3 separate regions of the Homo sapiens genome follow, and regions 2 and 3 are each linked to region 1. Evidence: promoter capture Hi-C in human tissues and cell types (Jung and others, 2019). All regions are on one chromosome and are shown on one strand. Each heading gives the region's core, a stretch centred on a gene start or on the middle of the fragment in contact. The rest is flanking DNA. Distances are from core to core; before and after follow the strand shown. Region 1 holds the start of GIT1 (GIT ArfGAP 1). Region 2 overlaps SSH2 (slingshot protein phosphatase 2). Region 3 overlaps SSH2 (slingshot protein phosphatase 2).

The links. Contacts are between HindIII fragments. The study calls those that stand out against the background at their distance.
Region 2: a fragment that was not itself captured here is called in contact with the fragment with the promoter of GIT1 in region 1 in 2 of the 25 tissues and cell types used here (dorsolateral prefrontal cortex and lymphoblastoid cells).
Region 3: a contact is called between a fragment that was not itself captured here and the fragment with the promoter of GIT1 in region 1, in 1 of the 25 tissues and cell types used here (lymphoblastoid cells).

Annotation. Positions count from the first base shown.
Region 1 is chr17:29,588,375-29,590,929 of GRCh38, reverse strand. GIT1 (GIT ArfGAP 1) reads left to right here and starts at 1,282. Exons shown (of 20, transcript NM_014030.4): 1 at 1,282-1,603. The coding sequence starts at 1,552. RefSeq lists enhancers at 302-1,201, 2,101-2,555 and silencers at 954-1,433, 1,694-1,883. The HindIII fragment of the contact is 8,209 bases long and covers 1-2,555 here.
Region 2 is chr17:29,911,611-29,914,165 of GRCh38, reverse strand. The region is part of intron 1 of SSH2 (slingshot protein phosphatase 2); the gene reads left to right. Among named protein-coding and RNA genes, the nearest start is that of SSH2, 17 kb to the left of the region's middle. The HindIII fragment of the contact is 3,452 bases long and covers 1-2,555 here.
Region 3 is chr17:29,889,628-29,892,182 of GRCh38, reverse strand. All of the region lies in intron 1 of SSH2 (slingshot protein phosphatase 2), which reads left to right. Among named protein-coding and RNA genes, the nearest start is that of SSH2, 39 kb to the left of the region's middle. The HindIII fragment of the contact is 4,297 bases long and covers 1-2,555 here.

The DNA.
Region 1 (2,555 bases), core at 33-2,532:
CAATTATAAATAAAGCCCATGGATCGCGATTTCAAACAAACTTGTCAATCTGGGCCGCAGCAAAAGGCGATGGAGGCAGCTTTGCATGTATTTCGGGTGGTGTGACTCATGAGCATTACTTGTCTCCCCTAGGGAAGGAGCCTGCCCACCCACAAATCACTGCCGCTCTGGCACCGTTGGGATAATCGACCAACTTGAGCACCCCTGCCAAAGGACTGCCCCCATCTTAACAAGCAGGAGTCTCTGACTCTTGGAGAACCCCTCCTCAATTGTCACCACTGACCTGGCCCCCAGGTCTGGCCCTGGGGACCTCTACCCTCTCCCCACAAGCAGAGTGCCCGGGCCTTTTGCTGCTGCAGGGATTGGGGGTTGGGTACACGCGCGGCACACGCGTATGGGGGCGCATGCTCAGTGCGGGGGCTGCGCTCATGTGCGGCCTCTACCTAGGCTCCCTGCCCCCCAGCCCACCCACGTCCCTCACCTGCCTTGCCTTTGCCTGCCTCGTCGTGTGAAGTCCAGGAAGAAAGGCCGTCACCTGAAACGGCCCCTCTATGTTATATGCACCCTTTCTGGACACACACACCTCTGGTGGCCCAGAAACACCGTGGGTGTGTGTAAGGCGGATGACAAGTGGATGTGAGTGCACACAGGCACAGTGGTCACTCCTCGGGAGGTCTTTAAAAACCGCCCAGATTCTCTCCTCTCTGGATGGAAGGATGCATGGAGAGATAGATATATTTTTAGTCCGGAGGCAGGGGAATACACTGCCTGACCTTTCTGGCACCTGGGCGTCCATATTGTTAGCAGTGGGCGTATTCAGCAAGAGTGTGACACATACACACACACCCCTGGACACACAGATGTGGACACCTACGGGACAGGGACGCACACCTCACCCCAACCAGAGATAGACGGGTACCCCAAGGCACAGCCCCTTTGACCTGGAGCGGGACTTGGGCCTCCAAGTCCTTCTTCCCTAATCCCCACCCTCGCCGTCCGTGGGCCCAGCGTCCCCCGGTCCACCCCACGCGGAAAGTGAAGGGGAGGGGGCTGTGAGGGTGACTCACATTGCCTCCGGGCCAGGCGAGCGCTGCAGCGGAGGCCAGGGCCGCAGGCCACGCTGCCCGCCGGGGCCGGGCATCTGCCGCGGCCCCTTTAAGCGCCCCCGCCCCCTCCTGCCCGCGCCCGGGCTTCCTTTCTCTAGGGGGCGCGGCCGGCAGCGCGCGGCGGGGCGGGGGTGCGGCCCCTCCCCCTGTGGGCAGGGCCTGCGCCGCTTCCTGCAGAAGCGGCCGGGAGCCGCGCAGGGGGCGGAGAGAGGAGCCGCGAGCGGCGGCGGGGCGGCGCGGGGCGGAGGGCGCCCGAGGGCGAGCGGGCAGGCGGGCACGGCGGGTTCCGGGCCAGCCCCGGGGCGGACGGTTGGCCGGGCGCGCGGAGCCTCGCCGGGGCCTCGCCGGAGCCGGGCCGGGCAGCAGGGGCCGCCGCCGCCGCCCGGGCCCGCCGCCCGCGCCCCCCACGCTGGCCCAGAGGGCTGCGGCCGCGTCGCCGCTGAGGATGTCCCGAAAGGGGCCGCGAGCGGAGGTGTGTGCGGACTGCAGCGCCCCGGGTAAGCGCGGCGGGGCCGGGGGCGGGACCGCACAGCCAGGCCGCCGCCGGGCGGGCGCCGGGGCCTGGCAAGAGCGCTGTGCGGGGCCGGAGGGCTGGGCGGGGCGGGGGGCTGCGGCCTCCAGGCTGGGCCCCCGCCTCGGCCACTGCGGAGCTGCGCCCTTGGCGGGAGGGCCGGCCTGGGGTGCCCATGCTCCCTGGAGGCCGTGGACTAGCGAGGAAGGACGTTCCCGGCGCCGCCTCCCGCTCCTCGGTCTGAGGGAGGCGGGCAGCTGGCTGCTCCTCCACCTCCATCTCTGTATCCGACGGAAGCGCCAGCCTGGGGTGGCAGGAGGGCCGTGGCGGAGGCCGTCAGGGCTTGGGAGGTGGGGGCGAGTGTGGTTTTATGTCATCTCAGTGCCACCCCCGCGTCTTGCACCTGCTGCTCGCGTGGTCGGTACGCCTGCCGGGGTGGTGGAGGGCAAGGAGCAGAGGGCCGGGCAGATGCGCCAGTGGGGCCTGAATACCGTCTCCTCAGGAGCAGATGAGCGGTGGCTACTCCCAGGACTCCCTGCCTCGGGTTCCTAAGGCTAGCGCTCCTTGCCGGGCCTGGCGTTCAGGGCCAGTCTAGACCCGGGTGTCTTCTCGGGAGGCATCCCCAGGCCTGCTGGTGGTGACTGGGAACAGCTCGGCTGGACCCTGCTGTTCCTGTTCACCGGTAAGGCCTGCTTGGGAAAGTGAGCTTGGCATCAAGCTATCCTGGGTGCGGGCCCCTCCCTGTCCCCTAGCCCAGTCTGGCCAGAAATGGGTGGGAGGCCGTGCCGAGATTCCCCGTATCCTGCTGGCTTCCTGGCCTGTCTCCTGGCTGTATTTACATGGTGGTTCCCTTCCTTTTCCTAACAGAGTTAGGACTGGGCTGGAGTGAAACCCCCCAGGCCTGCTGAGGAAGTCAGGGGTAATGATCCAAGAGGCTG
Region 2 (2,555 bases), core at 18-2,517, 320 kb before region 1:
CCTCAACTGTGACTTGTAAGGTCTGCTTTGTATATAAGATATAAGATATACACTTGTAAGATAGCTTTGGATACAGGAATCCTAAACCCTTCACTAGGACTGTGCAGTGGTGGTACAAGCTTACTTTGCTACTGAGACTACCAAATGACAACCTTATTTTCTTGCTTGGGGGATTTTAGATGCTGTGGTTTTATATTGCCTTGCCACTTCTATGTAAGAAATATAGGAAGCTGGCCGGGAGCGGTGGCTCATGCCTGTAATTCCAGCACTTTGGGAGGCTGAGGCGGGCGGATCACCTGAGGTCGGGAGTTCAAGACCAGCCTGACCAACGTGGAGAAATCCCGTCTCTACTAAAAATACAAAATTAGGCCGGCGTGGTGGTGCTTGCCTGTAATCCCAGCTACTCAGGAGGCTGAGGCAGGAGAATCACTTGAACCCAGGAGGCAGAGGTTGCGGTGAGCCGAGATTGCGCCATTGTACTCCAGCCTGGGCAATAGGAATGAAACTCCGTCTCAAAAAAAAAAGAAAAAAGAAAGAAATATAGGAAGCTTCTTGGACTCTTTATTATTGGAATCTTGGGATTTATTCATAAATATTGCTTCCTAGGGGTTCACAGAATTTCATAACTGGAAAATTGACTACTTTAATTGCCCATTTTACTGTTAAATAATTGCCAGAGTTTGGCTCCAAGAATAAAGGTCAGAACAGCTTACCTCTTGGGCAGTTTCAGGAGAGCTTTTGCTAGTGTAAAAGCCCTTTACTACATCTTTAGTAGAAATTGGATATATATATATATATATATATATATATATATATATTTTTTTTTTTTTTTTTTTTTTTTTTTTTTTGAGATGGCGTCTCGCTCTGTCGCCCAGGCTGGAGTGCAGTGCCGTGATCTTGGCTCACTGCAACCTCCACCTCCCAGGTTCAAGCGATTGTCGTGCCTCAGCCTCCCAAGTGGCTGGGATTACAGATGTGTGCCACCACACCCGGCTAATTTTTGTATTTTTAGTAGAGATGGATTTTCATCATGTTGGCCAGGCTGGTCTCAAACTCCCGACCTTAGGTGATCCGTCTGCCTCAGCCTCCCAAAGTGCTGGGATTACAGGCCTGAGCCACTGTGCCTGGCTGGAGATTTTTTTTTAATGCTAGGTGTTCAGGTGGCCACTTGGGTTCTAGACCAGACTTAGATTGAGATATAGGAAGTTGTACATTTAAGTGTGGCTATAAGATTTGGCAGATGACATACATTAGTGAAGCTGGCCAAATAGGATCTGTGGTAAGTAGGAGACTATGAGCTCTGTCTTCAGAGGCTGCCAGTGTGACTCTGTGTAGACCCAGTATTGCCAGAAAAGTCTTATATCTCGAGAAACATTAGTAATTAGCAGATTATATGAAATCTTTTGATATTTTTTGGTGGGAGGGGTGGACTTTAGAGACAGGATCTCACTCTGTCTCCCAGGCTGGGGTGTAGTGGCAAGATCGTAGCTCACTACAGCCTTCAACTCCTGGGCTCAAGCAATCTGCCCACCTTAGCCTCCTGAGTAGTAGTTAGGACTATAGTTGCATACCATCATACCCAGCTATTTTTTCTTAGTTTTTGTAGAGATGAGGTCTCACTATATTGTCCAGGGTGGTCTCAAACTCCTGGCTTCAAGCCATTCTCCCACCTCAGGCTCTCGAAGTGCTGAAATTACAGGTGTGAGCCACTCTGCCTGTCTGAAATCCTCTGATTTTTAAATGTTGGCAACTGAATTGGCTGGAAATTATTTTGATTGTAAGTAACAGAAGACCAAATTTAAACAGTAGGAATATGGTTTATCTAACAATAAATTTGAAGATACATATAGTCTAGGACTAACTTAGCTCAGCAATACCATAAAGATCTAAGTTGTTTATATCTTCCTGTTTTGCCATTAATAGTGTATTTGATTCCCATCTTTCTGCTTTTTTCCACATAAAAGATGGCTATTGTAGCTCTGGCAGTACATCCATATTTGTTGCAGAAAGGGGTAAAAGGTACAGTGCCAGCAGTGGCTGTACCATTCATTAGGAAGCAAAAATTTTCCCAGAAACCAACTGCTCATTCCCAGTAGCTTTCTCTTTAAGTCTCCTACCAGAACTAGGTTACATGGCCTACTCTAGTTGCAATAGAGCCTGGGAAAGTAAGTATATGGCTTTCCATTTTAATCATTGAGTGACAGCAAGGGATAAGAATGTTTGGAATAGCTATTGTCACACTTTGTATAACAACTAATACAGATTTAAAGAACTATATCTTGAAGGCTAAACAGAACATATCTGAGGCCCAGATTTAACTAGTGAGTCACCAATGTGTAGACACTATAAACAATATATTTTCCTTCCATTTCATTACTCTACTACTGATTCTTAGCTTCTATCAGTCATTTTATTATATGGCCAAGGAAGTTGAAATTAGAAAGCTTGAGTTTAAGTCCTGGTATAGAGACTTGTTAGCAGTGTTTTTTGGGGGTAAGTTTGCTTGATCTTTCTGAGCCTCCCATTTCTTATCTGGAAAATTGATATATAACATT
Region 3 (2,555 bases), core at 34-2,533, 300 kb before region 1:
TGTAGTCCCCAGCTACTTGGGAGACTATAAGGCAGGAGGATTGCTTGAGCCCAAGGAGGTCAAGGCCAACCTGGGCAACAGAACAAGACCTTGTCTCTTTTTAATAAAAAAAGAAAGAAAGAAAAGAAAGAAAAAAAAAAGAAAGTCGGCTATTACTTCATTTGTGCATTTTAGAATTTCTTTTGTAAATTCTAAAAGCCATTTTCCTAATTTTATAAAGCTTCTTTCTTAGTGGTAGATATCTTCAGCTATATATTGTTTATACAAAATCTCTTCAGTTTGAAGATGGGTTTTAACTAGAATCTGGAAAGCTAATGGGCTAGTCAGAACATAAGGTTCTGACTTATAACCATAAAATTGTGCAAGATTAAATATTCTTAGTGGTGTGGTCTGTACTGAGACCTTTTGATTTATAGTGGGTCACTATATAATGATGCGGTTCTGCTCTGTACTTTTTTAGCTAATTATGTTTCTTTTGTCTATAATTGAATAGCCCTTTTGGTCAAATGAGAAGTCTGGAAATTCTGCAATTACCTTTGGTCTGCTCTTCACCTGTCAGAAGTTTGAAGGCTATTTTGTTTTTTTTTTTCTATTACTATGACATAATATTCAACATTTTAGAATTTAGAATTTATTTAGGGCTCTTGAGCTGCTTGCTTGAGCCTGCTTTCACTCTATGGAGTGTACTTTCGTTTCAATAAATCTGTGCTTTTGTTGCTTCTTTCTTTCATTGCTTTGAAAAAAAAATTTATTTAGAAGTGAAGGCTAAATCTGATGGGTTTTGTCTAGATAACAGTGCAGAGAACTATTTGTAGCAAATGTGGTTGCTAACCACTTGCACTAGATTCATGTGGGAACTTAAGCATAGTAGATTTGTGGGTTTCATCTCTGTCCTACTCAGTCTCTCTTGAGATAGTCAGGACTGTGTGTTTTTTAACAGGCTCTTGGGTGATTCTGTTAAGTACTAACATATGAAAAGTACTGGTGCAGGGAATCCAGCCTGTGATTAGGCCTGATCCAGGCTGGTCCTTACACTGACTGTAGCAAAAGTGTCCATGGTTAGAACCCAAATCAGAGGAGTGTATGTTCAGGTGCTTCTCACAGGATGATCTTTTAAAGATTTTTTTCAGACCGGGCGTGGTGGCTCACACCTGTAATCCCAGCACTTTGGGAGGCTGAGGCAGGCAGATCACGAGGTCAAGAGATCAAGACCATCCTGGCCAACATGATGAAACCCCGTCTCTACTAAAAATACAAAAATTAGCTGGGTCTGGTGGCGTGTGCCTGTAGTCCCAGCTACTCGGGAGGCTGAGGCAGGAAAATCACTTGAACACAGGAGGCAGAGGTTGCAGTGAGCCGAGATCGCACCACAGCGCTCCAGCCTGGTGACAGAGCGAACAGCTTTAGTGAAATATAATTCAAATGCTATACAGTTAATACATTGGTTTTGGTATATTCACAGATATATGCACCCAACACCACAGTCAGTTTTTGAAAATTTTCATCACCTCAGAAAGAAACCCCTTTATCTATGACCACTCTATCCCACCCAACACCTCACCTCATCCTAAGCAAACACTAATCTCTGTCTCTATAACTTCCCTATTCTGGACTGGCCTATGAGTGGGATCATATGTTGTCTTTGTGATTGGCTTCTTTCAGTTAGCATAATGTTTTCAAGGCTTATCCATGTCATAGCCTGTGTTAGCACTTCATTCCTTTTTATGGCCAAATAATAATAGTGTTTTATCCTTTCATCCACCTAAATGATGACATTTAGGTTGTTTCTGTCTTTTGGCTATTATGAATGGTGCTGTACACATCTGTGTACAAGTTTCTGTATGGACATATGTTTTCATTTCTCTTGGGCATATACCTAGGAGTGGGATTGCTAGAGCATATGATAACTCTTTTTAACTGATGAACTGCCAGATTGTTTTCCACAGCAGCTGCACCATTTTACATTCCCACCAGCAGTGTATGAGGGCTCTGATTACTCCACATCCTCATCAACACTTGTTGTAACCTAACTTCAGATTCTAGCCATTCTTGTGAATATGAAGTATTATCTCATTGCAGTTTGGGTTTGCATTTCCCTAGTGGCTAATGATGTTGAACATCTTTTCATGTGCTCACTGGCCATTTGTGTATCTTCCTCACATGAGAAATATCTATTCAGATCTTTTGCCCATTTTTTATTTTTTTAATTAAAAAAATTTTTTAGAGACTGGGGTCTTGCTCTGTTTCCCAGGCTGGAGTGTAGTGAAACAATCACAGCTCACTGCAGCCTCACACTCCTGGGCTCAAGCCATCCTCCTGCCCCAGTCTTGGTGTCTGATCTCATACCTGGCTGGTTTTTTTTTTTTTTTTTTTTTTTTTTGGTAGAGATGGGGCCTCACTGTGTTGCCCAGGCTGGCCTTTGCTCATTTTTAAATTGGACTTTTTGTCTTTTTATTATTGAGTTGTAAGAGTTCTTTATGTATTCCAGATACAAGTCCCATGTCGGATATGTGATTTGCAAATATTTTATCCCATTCTCTGGGTTGTCTTTTTTC